Linked DNA regions of Homo sapiens: all the other regions are linked to region 1. The links are contacts of gene promoters, found by promoter capture Hi-C in blood cells and fetal thymus (Javierre and others, 2016). All regions are on one chromosome and are shown on one strand. Each heading gives the region's core, a stretch centred on a gene start or on the middle of the fragment in contact. The rest is flanking DNA. Distances are from core to core; before and after follow the strand shown.

Region 1 (5,092 bases), core at 701-3,200:
AAACTAAAAAAGTGTGTTTCACTTATCTTGAAATTTTAATTAACAAGAACAAACAATTCCCTGAGTTTTCAGATAAGATACTACCATAGCACTTTATTGACATTACTGAATTCCAAATATACTTCATAGAGCATTCCTAAGGAAATGACTTGATATGACAATTAAAAAAAATTAAAAAGCAGCAGCAAATAGAGTAAAAGGGCCTTAGAGGTCAGTCAAATCTTATCCTTTTGCAGTTAAAACCAAGGCCCCAAAATATTCACTCATGCATAGTCACAGATTTTAAAACAATTCTTTTAGATGTGTTTCATATTTTATCATCCATTTATACTAATATTTGACCAAACAGTAATATGTGACCAGGAAAAAAAGTTTTATGTGTCACATCACAGGACCACTGTTCTGCACACAGCTTCTATTTTAGGTGTGGTAACTGAAGCATGGTTCATTTTTGGATCTCTGACTTAATAGCCTTGAGCCTTAGCTTCCCCTTCAGGAATGTATCTGCTGTTGCTTCAATTTCATACTGAGGCTTAATCAATGTTTACAAAATAGAGACCTAGCTAGAAAATCATGGCCACAAAAACTGACTTTAAGAGTACAGCTAATAAAATCTCCATATTACTGGTCTTGCTATCTACTCAAAAGGTGACTCCAAAAAAAACTAAGACAACAACCTAGTGAGCCATGACGTGCTTTGAAAGAAAATGTCTTCTTTAGAGTGAAGTCACAATGTAAATATATGCTATTCCAATATTTTTTTAATGAGCTGCAACACGCAAATGGAAAAATAAAGAACTAGCAGAGAAAACTGAGTTGGGTGCTGTTCCAGGGCTCCAAGAGCCTGCAAATGACTTGCAAATGACTCATGAGGCTGCTAGTAAAGGGATACAAGATCACATGGCCTTAAAACCAGGCCCCACGGCTGTTTGACACCCAGTAGTTGCTATCTTTGGCATCTCCAAATGAGGGCATCTAGGAACAACCAGCAAGGCTGGAGAAGCCAGTGTTACTAGCAATTCTTCATCACACTAACTTGACCCTCCTTTCAACTCCAGTGTGCAAATTTGCTTATTCACCAAGATTGGCTAAAGCAGCATCCCTTTAACAGAACCCTTTCTTATACCTTGACTGGAAACATGTAAGTAATTTCATTTTCCTCTGGTTTAGATCACTGCTAACAGTTGATTTTTTGTCATTTAAGAATTCTTTGACTATTTACAAATAAATATTCCAACAAATAAAGATAATTGTCTATGAAAAATTGCCTGGTGCTTTATTTTTTAACCAGGCAGGTGCTTGGTATCAAACCACAGAAATAACTCACACCAGTATTGCTTGCCACAAAATCAGAATTGTTATAATAGGGCATAATTCAAAGCTAATAAGCAGTGTTATTGAATGAGTCATGGTAATTTGTTCTTTAATTTCATTTCCCAGTCAATGCCTCTTCACATTCAGGAAGTAATTTTTAAAATCAAGTCTAAATCATTTCTATCAAAAATGAAAAACACAGAGCACATGCAACAAAAACTTCCCAGACTCGAGAATCATAATTCAGTCTCAGTAGAGTAATAGCATGCAAATTACTTACAAAAATGTGAGCTTTGACTGCTAGGTTACCAGAAAAACAAAACAAAACAAAACAAACAAACAAAAACTAATTGTTCAGAAGCAACTACAACAAAACTTTTCTACAAATTCTGTAGTTCTCTCTTTGCCTTTCTTCAGCATACGGGTGCTCCTATGAGACCCATAAGCCCCAGGATGAAACTGTTGGTCTATATTGTGTCAATTTAGCCAAGCAGTGTAAGATTCCAAATCCTGACTTTTTTCATAATGTCTAAGGTTTTTAGTAAATATATTACTAAAACTATGCTTTAAAAAGAAAACAACAAAAAAACACCATGCCCTGATTTAGTTGGTAACTGATGAGGTTTTTATTGGACTGAAGTTACCGTCCTTATCTGGCTGAAGCAACTGTTAGCTGACACCACCTTTCCAGCACTCCTGCCATGGTATGCTTCCATATATAAATATCCTGTAGCAGGCGGAAGCTGCCACTATGATGACTGACTTGCAAACACTCCAGACAAACCAGAGAACTGCAATAAACACGGACAGAATATGATTATGACATCATAACAAGGATGATGGCAGGTCAGACGCCTAGTGCTTCCAGTAGCTACAAAAAGCGATTGTGAGTGGGCGATTTCATGGATACAGACCCACCACAGGTGAAGGAAGCACTCCATCTCATCGGCCGCCTTTCCTTTACAAAGGCTTTGTTCTGTGAGTGTCTGCACATCCTCCTTTCTCAGGAATAACAGCCTTCCATATATGTGGTTCCCTCACATACATGCCAAGGAGCTTCTGCCCTCTGCTGTACATAAAAGATGCTACAGTGATGAGGAGACCAACTATCTCAGCAGGATACTAACAGTGAGGTTGTGAACAACTGTGCAATCCTTTATCATCCTCACTTCCATTGCCATAGCTTGATGGACATTATTCATCTTTGAAACATTTTTCATGTCAGTGAGAAAATAGGTGTTCCACAAAATTTTCTTTGAGACAGAGTCTTGCTGTGTTGCCCAGGCTGGAGCGCAGTGGCATGATCCCAGCCTACTGAGACCTTCCTGCTTCCAGATTCTCCTGCCTCAGCCTCCCAAGTAGCTGGGATTACAGGTATGTGCCACCATAGCTGGCTAATTTCTTTATTTTTAGTAGAGATGGGGTTTCACCATGTTGGTCAGGCTAGTCTTGAACTCCTGACCTCAAGTGATCCACCCACCTCGGCCTCCCAAAGTGCTGGGATTACAAACTTGAGCCACCATGCCCGGCCCAAAATTTTCTTTACACCTATATCCCATACGGACCTCACTCTGCTTTGGGGGAAGAGGAATGTCATTTTTTTTTTCCCTTCACACTACCTAGTCTAAGAGGGAATGTCATTTTTTCAAGCCTCATCTGTACCCAAAGACTAATTCTTGGAGGAAGACAATATAACTAGTAACTTTTCTCAGAAACATACGTTAAAAAGCTATGTCAAATTTCTCTGAATAATGAAAATGTTCATGTTAGCTATTATGCTGTTTTTAAGAAATCTCCCAACTACCTGATCTGCCTTGAGCCATGTATCCTTTGAAGATATAATAGAAGTAACTGCCTCATTTTGGGGCGTTTACTACTTTTCCTCTCCTGTAACTTCTAACTTTGTGGAATATTAACTTCCCCTGAAGGAGGAAGGAAATGGAGACTAAGGAATTTAATTGTTGAGGGATACACTGATTATAAGTGGCAGAGATGAGATGTAAACCCATACCTCGCATTCAAGTCTGAATTGAACTATACACCAGTGAGGGGGATAAGACTGCCTTTAGACCAGTTAGACTTCTGGAAAGCCACTTAAGAACAAAGCAAGACAACCTACTTCATTTTAACTATAACATACCTGCAAGACCACCTTTAAGAAGAGTTTTGGGGCCGAGTGCGGTGGCTCATGCCTGTATTCCCAGCACTTTGGGAGGCCGAGACAGGCAGATTAACTGAGGTCGGAAGTTCGAGACCAGCCTGACCAACAAGGAGAAACCCCATCTCTACTAAAAATACAAAATTAGCCGGGTGTGGTGGCACATGCATGTAATCCCAGCAACTCAGGAGGCTGAGGCAGATTATACCATTGGACTCCAGCCTGGGCAACAAAAACGAAACTTCATCTCAAAAGAAAAAAAAAGAGTTTTGGGTCACAAAAAGAGATATTCTCACATGAAGTGTCTAATCTAGGGACATTCTCAAGTATTTGCTTTTTCTTTCATATATTACATCTCAGGGTATCTAAATTCACTCCCAGGAAATTTAGTACCCATCAAAGAGGAGTCACAGACAATGAATACTTCAAAATGCTTGAGCCTCAAAATAATGAAAGCGGGCAAAATTAATCAAGAATCAAGCAATGAACAACTAGTCTATAACACAACATTTTTCTACTTTCAAGAAAACACAAGCATTCTTACACATTGAACACCCAGCCACCCTTGTCTAGCAGTTACCACAAGTTTCATGAATAAAGTCACCTGCATATAAATTCAACATGCAGATTAACACTCTATACCTTCTTCCTCCCAAAAGCCCAGTAAAAAAGCAGGAGTACAAATTACAAAACCAGAAAAATTAAAATAGGAAGAAACAATACTGAAGAGCTCAATAAATGTATTGAACATGGTAAGAAGAGTGGTATCTGCCTTAGCAGGGCTATCACAGATGAGTGACAGTAGGACTGATCCTGCAGAATTCAGGCAGGCCTAGGATTTAGAGGCAAGAGTGTGGCATGGAGCTACACAGAGGCAAGTAATTTAATGCTAGCCAAAAACAAAATGCAATACAAATTGGAAAATTGTCTTAGAGAAATATCCCAGACAGAAAAAAAAAAAATAAATAAGGCCCAAGATTCAATTTGGGAGCTCCACTATGTCATAGAGTTCCAGAACAAAGAAAATGAGGAGGAAGAGAAGAGATGAAGAACTTAATATTTTCCAGGTTGCCAATCCCACCAAAGCACAGTATCATGCAATTTTAGAACACTAGAAACAGAGATGCTGAGAAAACAAAGAAATAAAAATAAAAACTGCATCAGATATCTCAAGATTTTGCAAATTAGAATAGAGCAATGCCTTCAAAATTCTGAATTTGAATACACTTGTCAAAATTTTCAAAAATTCCAAATTTGATTTTCCACCTAGAATTTCCATGCAAACTATCTTTCAGAAATATGAAGTCACTAAATAACTGACTGATCTCTCACGCACTCATTCCCAAGAAACTACTGAAAGAAGTGCTCCATGTTAACAAAGAAGTAAATTAAGACATGGGATCCAGAAAATGAGGGATACAATTCAAGAGAAAGAAAAACAAATCCTCACGATAGTGCTGTCTCAGGAAAACTGCTATACAATTGGATGAGAGAAACTAGTCTAGATTGAAACAAGTACAGAATCAAGAAAAGTTGTGACAAATTTATTTGGGACTGTTTGGGAAGAATCAATGATGTGCATAAAAAGCCAAAAAAAAGAGCATTAACTCCAAGACAAAA
Region 2 (5,092 bases), core at 744-3,243, 3.9 Mb after region 1:
TCATTTTCTTACCTTTTCCAGCTTCGTGAAGCTGGCTGCATTCCCCAGTTAGTGGCCCCTTCCTCCATCTTCAAAGCCAGCAAGGGCAGCTCCAGTCTTTCTCAGGATGATGCCATCTCCCAGAGATTCTAATTCTTCCGTCTCCCTCCTTCCCATTTAAAAACCCTTGTGATTACACTGGGTCCACATGGATAATCCAGAATAATCTCCTTATTTTGAAGCCATCTGATTAACAAACTTAATTCCATCTGCCACCTTAATTCCCCCTTGCCAGGTAACCCAACATATTCGCAGGTTCTAGGAATTAGGACATGGACATCTTTGGGGGATGATGATTTGTCTGCTACAAGCTCTATGATAGAAACCTCACATGGCAATCCTCTTCTAGTGCTTTCCAATCTCTTTTTTTACATCAGGGAATACAGTAAAAATGAAAAAAAAATTTACAGCACACTGAGGCAACTGGATAACCCTGTTAGGCCATGGCACAATATTTTGGGAGCCCTATACCCTACACTGACCACAGGATTGGTCACAGGCATTACTACTGCTCTTAAGGCTGAGGCACTTAAGGAACAAATCACAGGCATGCATGTGCCATTTCTGTGGAATCCTCCAGGGCAGCTGAGTGGGAGGATAGCCCTGCCATTCATTAATCAGACACCCTGCGTTCTTCCAACCTCAGGGGTTTTTTCTCTCCTCCTGGGCAGCAGTTTCTATCTTGTGATCTAAACATTAGCTTCCCTTGTGCTTCTATCTTTCTCCTTCCTTCTCTGGGGGAACTCAGTGTAACTCCTTGTTGCCCTTGACACTTGATAAAATGTCCATGTGAGTGGCAAGTGCTAGAATTCAATTCAAATTGGCTTAAGTGAAAAGGAGACTTTTTTGTCTCATATAACTGAAGTGTTCAAGGAAAGATGGTTTCAGGCACAGCTGGACCTAGGGCTAAATGGCTCTGAAATCCTCTATGAAGCTCTTTTCAGGTCCCATAAAGTAGCCATTGGTGATATCAGGTTCACATCAGTCTTTTCTGTTAGCAGTCCCAGCTGAAACATACTTTATAGATTGTCAAACATGAATTCATAGAGATTTCTTTTGACCTCCTATATGACCAATTTGAAAATATTCTAGAAGTGGAGGAAAAGACAGAATTGTTTTGTTTGTAACTAACAAATAGGGGAAATTTTCAGTATACCATTTATTATGGCTTGAAAATGAAATTTCAATTGCATGTCACTGTGCCAATACAAGCAGCTCAGAGGAATTGAGACAGGGAGGAGTTGCTCTTTTAAAGGTCCTCAGCTGGGCATGATGGCTCATGCCTGTAATCCCAGCACTCTGGGAGGTGGAGATGCAAGGGTTACTTGAGGCCAGGAATTCAAGACCAGCCTGGGCAACATAGTGAGACTCTGTCTCTACAAAAAAAAAAAAAAAAAGAACATAAAAATTAAAAAATTAGCCAAGTGTGGTGGCATATGCCTTGCAGTCCAGGCTGAGGCTGGAGGATGGCTTGAACCCAGGAGTTCAAGATTGCAGTGAGCTATGATCGTGATCATGCCACTGCCTGGCTGACCCTGTCTCTTAAAAAAAAAAAAAAGATAAATAAAAGTCCTTAAAAAATAAACTCACACAGAAGATGTCTACATAAAAAGAGTTCACACTTGATTTTAACTTTCTAACAAGGTAAAAGTCTTCTTTCTTTTAAGTTCCCCTCTGATCTCATAACTGAGGGGATGTGACCTAGTTTTCTAAGTATCTCAAGATCCACCAGTATTGATATATAAACTGATTTTGTTTCCTTCCAATAATAATTCCTTATAAGATAGTATCTCTGACAGTTTGGACAATGGCATTTGAACAGAAAATTATTTTCTCACACTAAAATATCTGGAAGAAAAATAATGATAGAAAAGTTATAGAAAAAGAGATGTTATCATTTGGGATTAAAAAAACATATTGTGAGGTGGGCACGGTGGCTCACGCCTGTAATCCCAGCACTTTGGGAGGCCAAGGCGGGTGGATCACCTGAGGCCAGGAGTTCGAGACCAGCCTGGCCAACATGGTGAAACCCTGTCTCTACTAAAAACACAAAAATTACCCAGGTGTGGTGGTGCACACCTGTAATCCCAGCTACTCAGGAGGCTGAGGCGGGAGAATCACTTGAACCCAGGAGGTGGAGGTTGCAGTGAGCCAAGATCACATCATTGCATTCCAGCCTGGGCTATAGTGCGAGACTCCATCTCAAAAAAAAAAAAAAAAAAAAATTTAAAAAAAAATTTAAAAAAAATTTGTGGATGACTAAACCTGTATCCCAATATCTTTATTAACAGATATCATTTATTTGGTATAAGGAAGATGTCCCAATGCAGATGAGTCTAGTTTATCATATAAGTAAAGGATTTTGTAACTTTTCAGAAAATCAAATTATGAGATATACACATATGACGTCGAATTTACTTATTCACTAAATAGTTATGGAAAATTTACCCTATACCAGTCACAGATATAGGCACTTGAGACACAGCAGTGGAAGATCCCTACCTCCAAGTAGCTTATATTCTATCAGGAGGAAACAGATAATAACATAATAAGTAATGAAATAAGGTGATAAGTGCTGTGTGAAAATAAAAACAGAGTAAGATAAAGGGATGGAGAGTGTGAGGGAGGAGGGACACAGTGTGGTATTAAATAGGGTGGCCAGAAAGGCCCCATTGAAGAGGTGACAGGTGAGCCAAGACTGGAAGAAGCTGAAGGGATTGGCTGTATAATCAAGAATGCTCCAAACAGAGGAACCAGCTAGTGCAAAGGCCCTAAAGAGAAAGCAAGCCTGGCGTGTTCCTGGAAGAGTGAGGATTCCTGTCTGGCTAGTACAGAATGAAGAAGGGTGTGATGGTTAATATTGAGTGTCAACTTGACTGGATTAAAGGATGCAAAGTATTGTTCCTGGATGTTCTGTGAGGGTGTTGCCAAAGGAGATTAACATTTGAGTCAGTGGACTGGGAGAGGCAGACCCATCCTCAATCTGGGTGGGCACCATCTAATCAGCTGCCAGTGCAGCTAGAATAAAGCAGGCAGGAGAAGACAGAAGAGTAGACTTGCTGAGTCTTCTGGCCTTCATCTTTCTCCTGTGCTGGATGCTTCCTGCCCTGGAACATAAGACTCCAAGTTCTTGAGCTTTAAGAGTCTTGGACTTATACCAGTGGTTTGCCAGGGGTTCTCGAGCCTTTGGCCACAGATTGATCCACCACTGGCTTCCTTGCTCCTCACCTTGCAGACAGACTATCATGGGACTTCACCTTGTGATCATGTGAGTCAATTCTCCTTAATAATCCCCTTATTTATAATATATACCCTATTAGTTCTGTTGCTCTAGAGAACCCTGGCTAATACAAAGGGGAAAAGCAGTCAAAGATAAAATCAGTGAGGTAAAGGGAAGGTAAGCTGATTGTGTAGGACTTCATAGACTATTGTAAATGATTTAGCTCTTACTGGGAATGGGGAGGGAGTAAATGGAAGGCTTTAGGCAGAAAGATAACAAGTTCTTATGTACCTTTAAAAAGAATAACTCTCATTGTTGGCTTGATAACAGACTAATAAGGGGTAGAGAATGAAAACTTTCTTTTACCTAATAATCCCTATGAAAGATGATGCTGGTACTAACATTGGAGTTGAAAGGAAGCTGTCAGATACTGAAAATACATTGAAGGCAAAGCCAGTGGGATTGCCTATGGAGTGTGAGTGCTAAGAGCATGAAAGAAATCAAGAATCACTCTGGGGTTTTAACCTAAACAACTGGAAGGATGGCTTTACAATCAGCTGAGCTGGAGCAGGTCAGAGTTGGAATATCCACAATACCACATTAGACATGTTAAGTGGACAGTTGGATATATGAATCTGCAGTTTTTAATATATGAATCTTGGCTAGAGATAAAAATTTGGAAGTGGCAGGCATGTTGATGGTTAAAACTATGGGATGAAAGAGTTCACCAAAGGAACGAGTATAACCAGGAGTAGAAGAGAATGGAAGTGATGAAAGGAGAAGAGGAAGGAAAGGAAAGGAAAGGAAAGGAAAGGGAATGGGGACGGGGAAGGGGAAGAGACTCAAAAAGGAGAAGAGGGAAAAGGAGGAGATAAGAAAGAACTGGAGGGGAGAGAGGACAGAAAGAATCAGAACTGAGAAGATGCAAAGGAGAGGAAGAGGAATCAACAAAAGACACCGAGAAAAAGCAACCAATGGAGGAAAGAAAAACCCAGAGATCAGTGTTCTGGGACATAAGTAAAGAAAGACTATCAAGGAGGAAAGTGTTGAAGTGTATGTAAGATTAAGTCAGAGAAATGACAGATTTATTCGTTATCTGACATTGCTTTCACAATGTGCAGCTCATTGATAACCCTGACAAGGGAAGTTTTGGTGGCATGGTGGGATTGAAAACTCTTAGGAAAAGTTTTGCTACAAAAGAGAGCAAAGAAATGAGACCACAATTGGTTGAATAAGTGGGGTCCAAAGAAAAATTTGTTGACAGAAATAGCAACAGGTTTGTTTGCTGGGGAATTATTGAATGGAAAGAAAAAAAAAGTAACATAGGAGAAGAAGGGAGACGGGAGAGGGAAATAATCTCTGGAGCAGTGCCCTTGAAAGCCCTGAGTGATGTGATCCAGTGTACAGTGGAGGGGACAGCTGTAAGTGGGATTATTAATAGTTTGTTACTGATAGTGGGACTTACAGAAAGGCAGAGAAAGTGAAGCCACTGCTATGGAAGGATGATGGGGAAACTTGGGGAATTCTTTTTAGATTACTTCAATTTCTTCATGAAGAAAGAAGAGCACCAGCTATGAATGAGTGGGCGCAATTATCTTTGCCCTTTTTTCCCATCTAGGTGAAGTTTCTAACTTCCCCAGTACTAGCCTTTTATATTCATAATTTTATATCATTTTCCAGGTGGCAGGCAAACACAGAAGTTAATAAGCACTCCAGGAATAAGAAAAGAAGGACTTTTATGCTCATGCTCACTAAGATGGATGCATATTGTGTCTCTTAAATCACAAGTATTCTGTCTTTAGGACCAATATCTAACTTTAATCTGGAGTTTCC
Region 3 (5,092 bases), core at 1,188-3,687, 3.9 Mb after region 1:
TAATAATTATGAGGTTAATACTTCATTTTGCTTAAGAGAATGAAGTTTATTAATCAATAAAAACATTTTTTTAGCCACACTTTGCTGGCTTGCACATTTTGATACCTTTTTTTTAATCACTGCATTTGCAGTTTAAAACAGGCTAACACTTACTCCTTTTTCATATCTACAAATGAGATCAACACAAACATGGTTTGCTCCAATGAAGATTTAAGGCACCTCTAAAAACATCCAAACAATAGAACAAGGTAAATGTATTTGTTTGCTAGGGCTACCTGTTAGTCTGCTAGGGCCAACACAAAATACCACAGTCTAGGTGGATTAAATAACAGAAATTTATCTTCACACAGTTCTGGAGGCTGAAAGTCCAAGGTCAAAGTGCCATTGGGACTGTTTTCTAGTGAGGACTCTCTTCCTAGCTTGTAGACGGCTGCCTTCCTACTGTGTCCTCACTTGGCTTCTTCTCTACATGGAAAGAGGGAGCTCTCTTGGTGTTTCTTCCTTTTCTTATTATGTCACCAGTCCTATCAGATTAGGGACCCACCTGTCTTAATTACCTCCCTAAAGTCCCTATCCCCAAATACAGTCTACACTGGAGGTTAGGGTTTCAATATATGAATTTTGGGGGAACATAATTTAGTCCATAACAGACTGCCATAATAACATACCATAGACTGAGAGGCTCAAACAAGACAAATTTATTTTCTCACAATTTCAGAGGCTGTAAGTCCAAGACAAAGGTGCCTTTGGGGTTGATTTCCAGTGAGGCCTCTCTTTCTGCCTTATAGATGGCTGCCTTCTCCCTGTGTCCTCACATGGTCTTTTTTCTGTGTATCTGTTTCCTAATCTCTCCTTATAAGACACCACCAGTCATATTGGATTAGAGCCTGCCCTAATGACCTCACTTTAACTTCACTACCTCTTTAAAGATCCTATGTCCAAATACAGTCACATTCTGAAATACCAGGGGTTATGACTTTGACATATGAATCTTAAAGGGATACAATTCAGCATACACCAGTAAAACGGTAAGTCAAGAAATTGGGCAAATGGACTGGGGGCGGTGGCTCACGTCTATAATCCCAACACCTGGGGAGGCCGAGGGAGGCAGATCACCTGAGATCAGGAGTTCAAGACTAGCCTGGCCAACATGGTGAAACCCCGTCTATGCTAAAAATACAAAAATTAGCCGGGCATGGTAGCAGGTGCGTGTAATCCCAGCTACCCAGGAGGCTGAGGCAGGAGAATCACTGGAACCTGGGAGGCAGAAGCTGCAGTGAGCCAAGATCACGCCAATGCACTCCAACCTGGTTGACAGAGTAAGGCTCCATCTCAAAAAAAAAGAAAAGAAAAGAAAGAAACTGGGCAAATGGTAAGGATAGGAGAGATGTTAAGACAATAAAGGGTGATGATATATTTACTAGGACTGGGTCACAACTCTGGCTCAGAGGCTCATAGCTGCCAATGCACAGAGGGAAATTTGATCAGTCACAAGACTCACCCTACGTTGAGTTTGGATTTAAACAATGGTCTTCCAGAGGCAGTATGCTTTTGTTGTCTAAAAAAAGTAGTAACTCTACTTCTAAGAGACTTTGGCCAGAGAGGAAAAAAGAAGAGCACAATGGCAGCCCAGTGAGAAATGTATTCTGATGTAATCATAATCTTATGTATTCCTTAAAAGCACAGTAATTGGGGCAACCATCTATGCCTCAAGATTCTGGGGAGACAAATAGTGTCCCCAAAGAAATGAATGTTTTGTAAGTAACATGTAGCATAGTTATATATGTTTACACGGAGAATTTTCCAAAATTATCCACTGTGGTCACTTTAAACACTCTCCTAAAATTAACTGCAGTTCTAATTTCTCAATCAAATCACAAAAGTCATAAGGAATTCTTAGGTCTATATAGGCTCCTCATAGTCTTCAGCATGTCTGTGTCTCTCCACGACCACTCCAGCTCAATGCGCCAAAGATGATGCATGTCCAGGTGCTGGAGCACAAAATATAACATAAGACCCCATGTCCCCATGTCCTGCAGGCCACACAGATTACCTTTAAGGGGGAACTGGATATTTGGAAGCGAGTAGACAGGAAGATATAGTCCCAGATAAATGGTAGAGGCTGGGGATATCTCATTGGCCCTTCTAGTCTCATTCACAGATCAAGTCTATCCTCCAAACTAAAGGGAATTATCTAGTTAGATTTTTTCTGCCACAGACAGAGAGTCTAGTGTAGTGCTAAAGGTGCATGAGCTCTGGAGATCCTCTGCCTGGGTTTGAATCCCTGAATCACCATTTATTCAATGTGTGACCTTGGGAAGGTCGTTAAGCTCTCTGTAACTTGGATTCTTCATCTGCTGAAAGTGGGGGGACAATTGCACCTATTGAGGGGGCCTGTTCTGAGGATTTATTTACTTAAATATGTAAAGTGTTCACAAAAGTGCCCAGCACATAGTAAACGTGATTGTTATTAAATAGTTCTTTACAATCTGAAAATTACACTTTAGGATAAACAAGTTTCTATAAAATCATTTGACTAGAAATGATAGTTGGAGTTAGAACAGTTTCAGCTACATTTTGCATATTCACAAACCTCAAAATGCATTGTATATTGTGGGCATGGTTCATTTATTCAGATATGTAACGAGGATCTCATTGCATTTGTAAAGAGACATGAAATCCTTTATCAAGGTTTCATAATGAGACACCTCTGCGTTTAAAACCACAGAAGGGACTTCTCACCTTTCTGAGCTGTTGTAATCCCTTGCAACTCAAATTTTTTCTGTCTGCTTTTACTCCAGGTCCAGGCTTGACACATGTTTTTCTCCATCTGAGTATCTTTATTTAAGATTACTTTCCCCAGATGTGTTTGTGTTCCCTTTTCTCAGCTGAATATGGTTAATCTTTTTTTTTTTTTTCTCAAATATCTGAGCTCCATTAAGCCTTTGTAAACTATCTTGGTCTGTGGTGTCGTCATCACCATCCTTCGGAGCTATACGGTAAGCCCTGCTGACACATCTTCTCCTGCCAAATCATTCAAGATCATTTCAATATTTACTCCCAAGGCTTTTCTGAGTCCTTTTCTTGCATCCCATATGTGTTTCACTAGAAAATGTCACTGGCCGACTGGTTCTATTCTTTTTTTCATTCTCGTTCATTCTCTCACTTATTCTGCCCCTTTTCTTGGTTCCTTTAAGAATTAAGAGAAACTTTGTTACTGAGAGTCCCCAGCTAAACTGGGGTTCCAGCACAAGGGCAGCTAGCAATCCTGCCCTAATGGGAAATGTAGGGAAGCTCTATGTGGATGTTTGCAGTGGGCCTTTCAGGGGATGCTTCTTTTACTTGGCTGATGGCCTAGTGCCTAGTAGTCTGATCAGTGACCAAAAGTGGGTAGAGAGATGGTCCCTCACATGGGAAACTTGTTTAAGCCAGCAGATGCCCTATGGCTTTTGTCTGACCTGCATCCAGCTTATACCTGCCCAACCATTGCCCTGGCACTGGGAGCCCAACCTTGAGCTCTCCCTGGCTTCCTGGAAGAAACCCAGCCTGGGGCAGCCCCTGGTTCTTCAGATGGAAGGTGCAAATCCAACATACCACCACCATAGGAAACAAGTTCCAAGATTTTTATTTACAGAGACTGAGTAGGGAGGGCACAATGAGTCAAGAACAGTCTTCATCCCTGGGTCACATCAGGCAAGAACAAAGAGTCAGGCAGAGAGAGACAGAGAGGGCAGCCAGCAGTATATATATACGAATAGGGTATGGGGCACTTTCAGTTCACAGGCAAATGCCTGACTGGTTCATTTAAAGGAACCAATGAGAAAGCAGGGAGCCCTGGTATGCAGAAGAGATGCCTCTAGGTTCTTATCTCTGGCCACGTCTGGGCCCATTTGGGTGTGGTGTAGAACCAGAAACTGTGTCAAGGGTGATCGAGCTCCGCTTCTGGTATAACAAACTTAAATTTGTATTCAAAATGGATGCCAAGACAACATAAAATTATAAGAATTCACTGCAATTACCCAAATCGGCTCTGTTCTTCCAAGATGGCTTTTCTCTTAGTGTACTCAGTATAAATGCATAATTACTATAGAACATATTCAAATGGAATAATTTGTTTTTTAAATTACAGCCATAGGCTCATCTGGTTTTGCATTCTTTCTCTTTTCCTTACTATCTAAGGTAATCAGATTTACTCTGCCGCGTATATTGACTCCCTGTTGTTCTTGTGAGATGTGTGACATCTGTTATTTTACGGTACTTAACTCATGTGCACTGACAGCCAGATACCTACTGGAAATAACAATTAAAGGCATAAATAACACACATCTGCATGTGTTCTGGCACTCGCCCACATATTAACACTGCTTACCACCTTACAGATTTACTTCTCTTCGGCAGCGTGATAAGCATTTGGTTTTAAAGAGTTTAGCTTTCCTTTCTGTGGAGATTTTGGCATATATTTTATATAATTGTCTATTTTTGTGAGTTGGGCATGTGTGGTTGTGTGTATACCCATGCGAGCGTGCACTTCAATAACTGAACATTCAGGAAAGGGATGCTATTCTCTTATTGCAGCACCTGCCTGCCTACCTGAATAGTTTTTACAACATCAAGCATGACTCATTGGTAATCCCTGCTGATATAAAATTCATAGGCCCGTGTGCTTCCTTCTGAAGGCAGCAATTTGCATTTCTGAAGAGCTTTGAAAGAATAAGAGAAAGTTATTAACTGTTATTATTTGCTGACCACCCACAGCACTCACAGTGGGGTACGACAGACAAGAAGGGGGAAGGTCAGCTCTTTAATATGTACGTGTAACTAGCTCAGAGTCGCTGGAAGCATCTTGGTGGCACTTTAATTAGCAGCTTCCAGGGTCAGAGGACTCTAGAAAGCTTCGCAACAACTACTCTGAGCCCATGGAAACTGTCACTTCACAGAATCGTGAGACATGAGGGCTGGCAGAGAACAGCTGTGAATCCCTCTGCTTCTCTGTGAAACAGGATGGTTAGCTCTACCTCACCCCTACTTTGTAGAGCTTGGGAATGGGACTCTCCATGAATACTGTTGGCATCTGCTGGGCATCACACATAAG

Evidence for each region. The method cuts DNA at HindIII sites, captures the fragments that hold promoters and counts their contacts. A CHiCAGO score of 5 or more calls a contact.
Region 2: a contact is called between a fragment that was not itself captured here and the fragment with the promoter of LSMEM1 in region 1, in 4 of 17 cell types (total CD4 T cells, naive CD4 T cells, total CD8 T cells and 1 more). The highest score is 8.5, in total CD4 T cells.
Region 3: a contact is called between a fragment that was not itself captured here and the fragment with the promoter of LSMEM1 in region 1, in 4 of 17 cell types (total CD8 T cells, naive CD8 T cells, activated CD4 T cells and 1 more). The highest score is 7.8, in total CD8 T cells.

What each region holds. Positions count from the first base shown.
Region 1 is chr7:112,477,849-112,482,940 of GRCh38, reverse strand. It overlaps LSMEM1 (leucine rich single-pass membrane protein 1), which reads right to left and starts at 1,950. Exons shown (of 4, transcript NM_182597.3): 1 at 1,595-1,950. The HindIII fragment of the contact is 7,612 bases long and covers 1-5,092 here.
Region 2 is chr7:108,585,616-108,590,707 of GRCh38, reverse strand. No RefSeq gene overlaps it. Among named protein-coding and RNA genes, the nearest start is that of DNAJB9, 18 kb to the right of the region's middle. The HindIII fragment of the contact is 6,518 bases long and covers 1-5,092 here.
Region 3 is chr7:108,603,637-108,608,728 of GRCh38, reverse strand. The region is part of intron 3 of LOC105375448 (a long non-coding RNA gene); the gene reads right to left. Among named protein-coding and RNA genes, the nearest start is that of DNAJB9, 36 kb to the right of the region's middle. The HindIII fragment of the contact is 4,915 bases long and covers 1-4,894 here.